2 separate regions of the Homo sapiens genome follow, and region 1 is linked to region 2. The links are contacts of gene promoters, found by promoter capture Hi-C in blood cells and fetal thymus (Javierre and others, 2016). All regions are on one chromosome and are shown on one strand. Each heading gives the region's core, a stretch centred on a gene start or on the middle of the fragment in contact. The rest is flanking DNA. Distances are from core to core; before and after follow the strand shown.

What was found. The method cuts DNA at HindIII sites, captures the fragments that hold promoters and counts their contacts. A CHiCAGO score of 5 or more calls a contact.
Region 1: a contact is called between a fragment that was not itself captured here and the fragment with the promoter of RMDN2-AS1 in region 2, in 1 of 17 cell types (megakaryocytes). The highest score is 6.0, in megakaryocytes.

Annotation. Positions count from the first base shown.
Region 1 is chr2:37,384,249-37,389,388 of GRCh38, forward strand. It overlaps LOC107985868 (a long non-coding RNA gene), which reads right to left and starts at 56. Exons shown (of 3, transcript XR_001739403.3): 1 at 1-56. The HindIII fragment of the contact is 4,076 bases long and covers 1,583-5,140 here.
Region 2 is chr2:38,033,172-38,038,119 of GRCh38, forward strand. It overlaps RMDN2-AS1 (RMDN2 antisense RNA 1), which reads right to left and starts at 3,170. Exons shown (of 4, transcript NR_102712.1): 1 at 2,979-3,170. It also overlaps a transcript of RMDN2 not described here. The HindIII fragment of the contact is 2,287 bases long and covers 1,701-3,987 here.

The sequences.
Region 1 (5,140 bases), core at 2,371-4,870, 650 kb before region 2:
TAAGCCGAGAAGATCTGGGAAGGAGTCAGAGAGCCTTGGGCCAGAGTTCCAGGGCCTCTGGGAGTGGCTGCTAGGTGAGTTGAACAGTCCGATTTTCAGTGGCACAGATGGGACACAGCTTGGGAGGAATCCTGGGCTGTGGGCATTCCTTGACCCAGTGGCCAGATTTCTTGCACTTGTAGCAAGCTCTTGTGGGAGGAGGTTCTGGAGGAACGCCTTGCAGCTGCCGTCAGGCGTTTGGAAGTTCTTGTGTGCTGGAGATGTGGCTGGGGTTTGGCTCACAGTGGAGGCAAGGAATTGCAACACAGAAATATGTTGCTACTTGGCTGCTGCTACTCTATTATTGTTCACCTTGAAGGTGAGGTTAATTAAGTCCTGTTGTGGGGTTTGAGGGCTGGAATTTAATTTTTGGAGATTTATTTAATGTCGGGAGCAGATTGGGTAAAAAATAAAATGTATATTGAGAATAAGACGGCCTTTTGACCTTTCAGGGTCTAGGGCTGTAAAGCGTCTCAGGGCTGCTGCCAAATGAGCCGTGAGCTGGGCTGGGTTTTTATATTTGATGAAAGAGCCTAAACGCTAACTGATTTGGGAGAGGTCGGATAAAGAAAAAGGAGCATCAACCTTGACTATGCCTTTAGCTCCAGCCACCTTTTTAAGAGGAAATTGCTGGGCAGGTGGGAGACGGCTAGTTGCGGAATGAAACTGTAAGCTGGACTGGGTGTGAGGAGGGGAGGTGATAAAAGGATTATAGGGTGGAGGAGCCGAGGCTGAGGAAGAATTGGGACCTAGCTCGGCCTGGCGAGGAGGGGAGAGGTCAGATGGGTCTGTAGAAAAGGAAGATTAGAAAGACCCAGCAATGCTTGGGGTTGGGACTGAGGGGACAGGCGGAAGGGAAAGAAGGAAGATTTGGGATGAGTTGCATTGGGAACAGAGGGGAGGGACTGATATGTAAAAGAATGCCTGGACGTTAGGCACCTCAGACCATTTGCCCATTTTACGACAAGAATTATCTAGATCTTGTAGGATGGAAAAATTGAAAGTGCCGTTTTCTGGCTATTTAGAGCCATTGTCAAGTTTGTATTGGGGCTAAGCGGTGTTGCAGAAGAAAATAAGATGCTTAGATTTTAGGTCAGGCGAGAGTTGAAGAGGTTTTAAGTTCTTAAGAACACAGGCTAAGGGAGAAGAAGGAGGAATGGAGGGTGGAAGCTTGCCTATAGTGAAGGAGGCAAGGTTAAGAAAAAGGTAGAGACACGGAGAAGCGGGTGGGGAGCAGCCCTGGGCTGCAATGTGGGTGAGCAACAAGGCTGTTGATTTCACCTGGGTGCAGGCGGGCTGAGTCCGAAAAGAGTCAGCCATTTTTGTATTTTTAGTAGAGATAGGATTTCGCCATATTGGCCAGGCTGGTCTCAAAATCCTGACCTCAGGTGATCCACCCACCTCAGCCTTCCAAAGTACTGGGATTACAGATGTGAGCCACTGCAGCCAGCCCATTATGTTTTAAGAAAGTTTATGGTTTTGTATTGGGCCACATTCAAAGCCATCCTGGGTCGCATGCCACCGGTGGGCTGCGGGTTGGACAAGCTTGATTTACTCTATGGTTTTCACCCTCAGCTTTAGATTCTCCTTGGGGCTGCACTGCACGGACGGTCCCTGTCCACGTTTTTGCCTCTTTCCCAGTGGTAGAATGTACTCCAACAGTTTTCAACGTTTTTGTATTTTAAGTAGTAAAGTCCTTTCTTTGAAGGATATCTCACACGAAAACCCCAAAGATAAAAGCAGTGCAGATCTGGTTGAAGGTAGGAGAGTGGCCTAGAACTTTATTGGTGAAACCTTATCCAAACCCCCCAGCACACTCACCCTGACGCACTGCAGCCGGGACTCTTCAGCACCTCCCTGTAAGCTGGTGCTCTGCAGACCTTAGCTTGGAGCTCCGATCTAATCTCCAGTCTCTTTTTACTCAGTTCTCAGAGGCAATGACTTGGTGGATCAGTCAATCCTTGGGTTCTAGGTTACCACTTTCACCTGGTTCTCCTACCTTTCTAGTCTCTCCTTCTGTCTCCCTTGCTGTGTCTTTTTTTGTCTTTCTGACTCTTAAAAATCAGAATATTCTGGAGCTTAGTTCTTGGACCTCTTCTCCAGCTATACTCACTCCCCAGCTGATCACATCTAGCCCCATGGTTTGAAGATTATGTGTAGATAACTTCCAAATTAGTATCTCCAGTCTCAATCTCTCCCAAAACTCCAAACATCTCCACTGGGGTGTCCCAAAGACACTTCAAATGAGGAAATGCAAAACTGAACTCACAGTTCCGTGCATCCTCCCGAACCTTCTTCTTCCTACATTAGTACATGGACACTTTTTAAGCCAGGTACTGACTCTTCTTTCTCAGCTCTGGACATTATCAAGTTCTATAGGCTCTCCTTTGTACCCCAGGTCTGTCCCCTTTGAGCAGTGCTCCCCCTCTGGGTCAAGTCACCATCATCTCTTCCTGGGTCCCCCTGCTCCACCTTGCTTCTGTAGTCTCCTATCACAGGGACTAGAACGATCCTTTTAAATTGGAATCAGGGGCTGGGTGTGATGGCTCATGCCTGTAATCCCAGCACTTTGGGATGCATAGGTGGGCTGATCACCTGAGGTCAGGAGTTGGAGACCAGCCTGGCCAACATGGCAAAACCCGTCTCTACTAAAAATGCAAAAATTAGCTGGGCATGGTTGTTCCACCTGTAATTCCAGCTACTCAGGAGGCTGAGGCAGGAGAATTACTTGAACCCAGGAGGCAGAGGTTGCAGTGAGCTGAGATCACACCACTGCACTTCAGCCTGGGCAACACAGTGAAATTCTGTCTCAAAAAAAAAAAAATTGCAATCAGGTCATATTACAGCTCTGAAATGGCTTTTCCTTTCTCTCAGAATAGGATCCAGTGTCATTTCTATGGCTGACAAGGTTCCATATGACCAGGCTCCTCCATCTTTCTGGTCCCTCCTCCTATGGCTCTCTTCCTACATCACCTCTCCTGGCCACACTGGCCTCCTGGCTTTTCCCAAACAAGCTGAGCACAGTCCTGAATCACTGCCTTTCTATGTGCTTGCTCCTCTGCCTGGAATGCTTTCCCCTAGATATTTGCGTCGGATGTGCCCACATTTCATCTGAGGTTTTGCTCAACTAATACTTAATTGGAGGGGCCTTCCCTGATCCCCTTCATCCTGTCCCCTGGACTTGCCCATTTTCCATCCTGGAGAGGTCTTAGTGACAACTTACGCTGTAAAGCCACCACCATCAATCACTTCATCCCCTAACGCTACACATTGCTTCTTCTTTCCCCAGAGATGAGGGTTAGACTTATGTTTGGTAGGAGCTGCAGCAGCTGCAACACTGAGGTCTGACTCAACTGAATCCAGGGAAGCTCTGGCTTCCCCAGCAGCTGCCCTGGGGGCCAGTGACACAACCCAGAAATACATACAGTTAATGTCCTGCACAGTAGACAAATCAATGGAAAGCAGGAGATAGGAAGAGACCGAGGGTTAATTGCTTACCCTTCCTCCCTCCAGTGGATTGTTTTGACATGCAGTGATTTTATTTGACCTCTCTGGAAGAGATGGAGATGGAGAAACAAGCTGTATTTGTGGCAAAGCTGGCCATCTTGGTAACACATCCCTTGTATTTGCCATTCTTCCTTTCCTGTCTCACTTCCTACTTTCCTTCACTTTTACTCCCCCTAAATTGCACCTTCTCTCATAAAGTCTAAGCCATGAGCTTTTGTTTCAGGCTCTGATTTCTAGGGGACTGTTATCTGTTTATTTGTGTGTTATCTCTCTCTCCTCTCTAGAATGTGAGCCCAGAAGAAGAGTAGGGAGTTTGTTTCGTTTACTGCTGTATCCTCAATGACCGGCCTAGTACTTGGAACATGGTAGATGCATGTTAAATACTTGTTGAATGAACTTCATGATGAGGAAACTTGTCTTTCCTAATCCTGGACCTTAAGCCAGGATGATTCACTGAAGCCAGGATGGTTCACTTGTAAGTCACCTGGTAAGTCCCACTCATCTGTGGCAATCCTTTGGTACCTCTTGCTTTGAATCTGCTCTTGATCTTGCTTCTGCTTCCTCCTCTCTCACCTGTGATATGCAACAGCCTCCCAATTGGACTCCCTGCAGCATTCCACCCTGCTTCATTCTAGACTTCATGCAACAGTCAGAGAAATGTTTTAAACACATTAATCAGGTCTCATTGCTATGCTGCATAAAACCCTGTGATGGTTTTTCACTGCACTGAGAATTAATATGAACTCCTTAACTATGGCTTACTATGGCCTACAAGGCCCTCCCCACTCAGAAACTCAACAATCTTTTTTTTTTTTTTTTTTTTTGAGACAGAGTCTCACTCTGTTGCCCAGGCTGGAGTGCAGTGGTGCAATCTCGGCTCACTTCAACCTCCACCACCTGGGTTCAAGCAATTCTCCTGTCTCAGCCTCCTGAATAGCTGGGATTACAGGCGCCCAACATCATGCCGGGCTAATTTTTTTTTTTGTATTTTTTGTAGAGACAGGGTTTCACCATGTTGGGCAGGCTGGTCTCAAACTCCTGACCTCAGGTGATCCACCTGCTTCAGCCTCCCAGAGTGCTGGGATTCTAGGCGTGAGCCACCGTGCCTGGCCCAGAAACTCAACATTCTACCACTCTTTCCCTCCCTCTCTGGCCTAAAATGCCATTGCCCTCTTTTGTTCCTTGAACTTACTAAGCAGTCCCCTGCCATAGGGAGGCTTCTGGACATCCTTATCCTCCACATGGGATTCTCCTTTAGTCCCGATTTACATTGCTGTCTCTTTCTTGGCCTTCTCACAGAGGCTGTTCCTCACATCCTCTTATCCAGAATAGGTCCTTCCCTGTATATTTCTATCTCAGCACTCTACTCATTTCTTTCTTTTTTCTTATCACAACTTGTCATTACAATATTGTTTTACTATGGGTGGGGGGCAGCCTGTTTTCATGATCAAATTGTAGGTTTCATGAGGGCAAGGACTATGTCTATGTTTTTCATCATTGTATTCCCAGCAACTTGGAGATATTTGTGTGTGTCAGAGGTTTAATACATACTTGGTGATTAAACAAATATTCAAGAACTGATCCAGCTTCTATT
Region 2 (4,948 bases), core at 1,920-4,419:
TGTGCTCATTTGGCTTCAGTGACACCAAATTTGAAAATTCTATAGCCAAAAGCACCTTTGTTAGTTACTAGTAGATTTTTACTTTCTCTTTCTTGCCTTAACACTGGCAGTACACAAACTAGCTAAAAGTAGCTGTCCTTTCCTTCCCATCCCATGGTGAGATCATCAAAACCTTCAGAAACCCACTCTATAGAAAGTCAAGCAGACTTGACTAGATTAAGCCTATGGTCTCAGAACATTGTTGTTGGAAGGGGGATGAAAGTCATGTGTCCTTCTACCTCTCTTGCTCTGCTATACTTAAAGAAACTCCTAGTGATACAATCCCAACAATCAGTCATGAGTTCTCTGACCTTTCACAACACCATCTATGTTTCTTACATTGTTATCCAATTCTATATTTTTTGAATTGTTATCTACTCCATGTGGACACACATTCATTCTCCGCATAGATTAAAAGACTACATCTGATCTTGCTTCTGTGTTTTCATAGGGCTCAATAAATACTTTTAAAGTTGAATTGAATTTGCAATATTCACTATATAATTAAGAGAGAAAATTTGAGATCAAATTTACTCTAGATTTCAGATCAGTCATTTCATGGGAATCCAAACTTTCCATGTCCAGGAATTCATGAGATTCCTCCCCCAACCTCCTGCTCTTGTTGACAATGTAAAACAAACCACAGTTAGCCTGGGAATTATCTTTACGGAATATATCAGCATATTGTTTTGAGTTTTTGCACTGCATGTATTAATCAACCAAGAACACATGTCTTGGTTCAGTAAAAATTTGCAGAAAGCTAGGCATCCTATTAAAAGAATCTGTTGACGTTTATCCCCCCAGCTAGCTTTTCCTATTTTGTAACTACAAAGAATATTAGTGTTTCTTTACTTTTCAGAATCATCTACTCAGAAAGACTTCTAGCAGTGTCCTCGACAGGAAGTCACCACTGTGCTGAGGCAAGGCAGTGGGTCTTTAGGAGGTCAGGTTTCTTCCCACCCTTTGACTGCTCTGCCTGTAGATGTGTCAGCTCTTATCCCACTTCTGCTGAGAAGAGCATCCTTCAGCCGTGACACTAAACTTGTGTGAGGATGATGCAGAGAGGCTGGGCACAGGCCACATAGGCTCACCCTCTACCACTATCTTGGACATATTAGGTTCCTACATGATGGGGAGATCAGGAGGGCTAGGGGAGCCTAGTTATAGTTGCTTTATTGGAACTGTCTGGCATAGAAGAAGACATTCAGAGGGCAATAAAGATCAGACTTTTTCAGAGGCAAACAGGTGAACTTCCAGTGATTTATTCTTAGTTAACCAACCTTCAACCAACTGATAAGATAAACAGTATCCCTAATGCTGATCCTAAAGCATTCGAGATCCTGAAGTATCTTCAGCATTATCAAAAAGGATTAAATTGTATTGTGGTAAACAATGATATTTTAATTTTAAAAATTTATTATAATCCTCTAAACCCATGCTCTCCAAACTTTCTTATTTTATGCTTGAATCGGTTGTAAAAATTGTCATCCCCTAATATATTTATATTTATTTATTTATAAATTATACGTATTAATACCCTACTAAAATTTTCATGATAAAACATATACAAATATAAAATATTTTAAAGGGCAAGAATGTTTTCTTGATTTTAAAATTTAATAAGTAGAAATAAAGGAATACTGTTTTAATATTTAAAAAAAAGCTTTTTATCTGAGCTCATCATGCCTACTAACAAAGTATTTAGAAGCATTTATGCTGAAGTAAGGACAGGAAAAATGACACTGTCACTACTATTATTGAATATTGTTCTAGAGATACTAGCTCTAATTAGGAAAGACAAACAAATTAGAATATTTGAAAGTAATACATTAACAGAATATGGTAAGTATCATTTATGTTGGCAAATAAATTCACGTGTGAAAAACCTGAAAGAACGAACTACAAAACATTCTTCAACAATAAAAGAATAAATATATAGAAATCAGTAGCCATGACAAATACAGATGGCAGCCAGTTAGAAGGTGTACTGGAAGGTAATGCCTCATTTACCCTGAGTAAAACAAGATCAAATATCTAGGAATAAATATAAGAATCATGTCTGATAGGCAAGCAGAAATTGAAGGAACCCCAAAAGTTTGAACAAATAAAAAGACACACTATATTTTGATTAGGAAGACAGCATCCTAAAATTATCCAATATCCTTCAATTAATCTACAAATTTGATAAAATTCCAATACAAATACCAACAAGATTCTTTTTATGTTCTGAGGTTCAAATGGAAAATCAAACAAGTAAGAGTAGTTGTGAAAATACTGAAGAAGTCAAGCAATGAGGGGCAACAATACCTACCAGATAAGAAAAAATGCATAAAGCTATCATACTCAAAGAAATATGAATGAATAGACAAATCAGTGAAATAGAATATAAAGTCCATAAATACATCCTAATACACATAAAAATGTATATGATAAAAGAGGCATGTAAAATGAGTTATTCAATAAATGAGTCCCTGGAAGATAAGGAGGGTGGGAAACAGATAGGATAGGCTATGAATTATTAAGCAACTGGTTTATATCTAGTTTAACCAGCAAGATGCAGGAGCATCTTCAACTTAGTTTTCTCATAGCACCATGATGTCCACAAATCCACTTACAAGCAATAGTTCTGTCTTTCCCAATGTTACATTCCAAGCATTCACAACCGTATCTGGACACAGAAACTCTACCATGGTACCAAACAGTAATTACTCTGCAGAGGTAATAGGTGCACACACTATTTAGGTCTGAATACCACAGCAGGGAAAGGTATGCCAGCTAGGAAGGAAATAAAATCTCAGGAAAAACGAGGGCAAGTAGAAAAAAAAAAAGATAAGAGGAACTAAATAGCCTCGCTGGGCACATACTCATGGGAACCCTGCTGATGTTGCCCAACTTGAAGATAAAGAGATGCCTATGATATAGAATCATGAAGATCTCACCTCAGAGAGATCCGTGATATGTCACCCAGGAGCATCCGTCACCTGCCGGAGCACTGTACCAGGAAACCAGAGGCATGGTTCTGTGTAATCTCGAGCAAGCTAAGTGGCCATGATGAGAATGCTTCTTCCTACTGTGCCCAGCTACAGGATTTATGTAAGAATGACACGAAATGACAGATGTGAGTACACTTTGCAGCTCTGATCAGTGGTATCCTAATAAAGAAGAATTGTTAGCTTTGAGTTGAGCCTTGTTTGTAACAGGCACTCACTTCACTGTTGTTGCCTTTTATGTTCCGGAGTCCTGCATGATATGGACTCCAGGATAGCAAGAGTCCACATACCCCTCCCCAAGAGAAATTAAGCTGGGAGCCATGGAATTATCATCATCTCCTTGCCACCCTGTCCAACTGCAGGTCGTGGGAAGCTGAATTTACCCTGTGAGACTTCTGCTTCATTTACATTCATCTTGGCAGGCAGTGGTGGGTCGTGGGGAACCTGTTGAAAGCATGACAGCAATGAAGGCTTTCTTACATGCTGAACTCACATCAAAGCTCTTTTCTTCTGTGCTGACACATGTAACTCTTTACCAGTCTGATGATAACACATACAGAGACAGACCCTCGGATTCCTGCTGGGGAGAAAACAGAGCCAGAGATATGCTGTACTGAGCTGGCAAATACAGTGTTCTTTCTGTTAAAATCTGATGGGAAAGTAACTAGGCAAAAATCCATGGTGCTGGCTACGGTACAAAGATGACCAAGGCTGTCTCAGGTATCCTGGTGGCTTTATTGTCTATTTCCGGGAAAAGAGTAGGTAGGGATCAAGAGCAAAGAACATGGGAAAATGTGCTGCTTTGTCATTGCAGTTCATTTATTTCCTAGAAATTTTGGCTTCTAGGGAAAGGCAGCGTGATATAAAAAAGAAAAAGGTACTGGACTCAACCTGATTTAAATCCAGACCTGACACTTTGCTACCTGGATGAACTTGGGTAAGTGACCTAAGCTCTCTAAGCTTCAGTTTCCTCATCTGTAAAATGAGGATGAAATTTTCTATGCAAGATTTTGTAAGGAAGATCAAATAAATGGACATAAAGCAATTGACACATAAATATGGAAACGATTTCTCAGCTTTCCTCCCTGAGGGACAGAGACTCTTCAGGCTACTTAAATTCTCCCCAGACTTTTCCAAGTTGCTCTTTATCCTCATACCCTGGCCACACCACAAAAGCTGCCCACATAGAAGAACTTGGTGAAGACTTGCTGACTATTCCCCTAAATTCTGCTTGTTTAATAAACATCTGCAGAGACAGGCTCAGCAATGGGCTCATTGTGGAGAATCCCAGAAGTGTGTGGCAACACCAAAGGAATTTTATGAAAGTCCCAGGAGAGAGAAACTGTCGTTCAAGTCATCACATAGCAAACTGCCCCTAACACGTGCTGCACACACATTAGGTGGTGACTCAGTTTTGGTGTTTGACTTGAGTCTTAAAACATAGTTCAGAACCTGATGATACTTCCCTGAATTCCCATTTTTAGTGTGAAAGTGTGTTCGGCTTCCCGTTGGCTATTGGGAGCTTGAAAGAAATTCAAGGAAGGAGACCTACAAACTGCTTATAAAGGATACTGCGTGAGCTTTATGCACTTTGGCTCTTTTAATCCATTCCACAAGGCCGTGATGCCCATTTTACAGATGATGAAACTCTTTCTGAGGTTAAGTAGCTCACACGGTGCCACAGCTAGCGACTGCGTGAGCTGAGTCACATCCAGATCGTTCAGTATGAGAATTTTAAGAGAAGATAAACATGTGATTCTCTCGAAACTCGGTGTTCTGTAGCCTGCAAACCCCTCTGGAGCCTGGTGTTTGCTTTGCTTGCAAGCCTGACCTCCGAGGCTCCTGCCATCTTCCTTCCCTCTTCTCCCCTCCATTCTCCCCTTTCCCGAACCGTTTCTTTCCCCCATTCCTTCCCCATC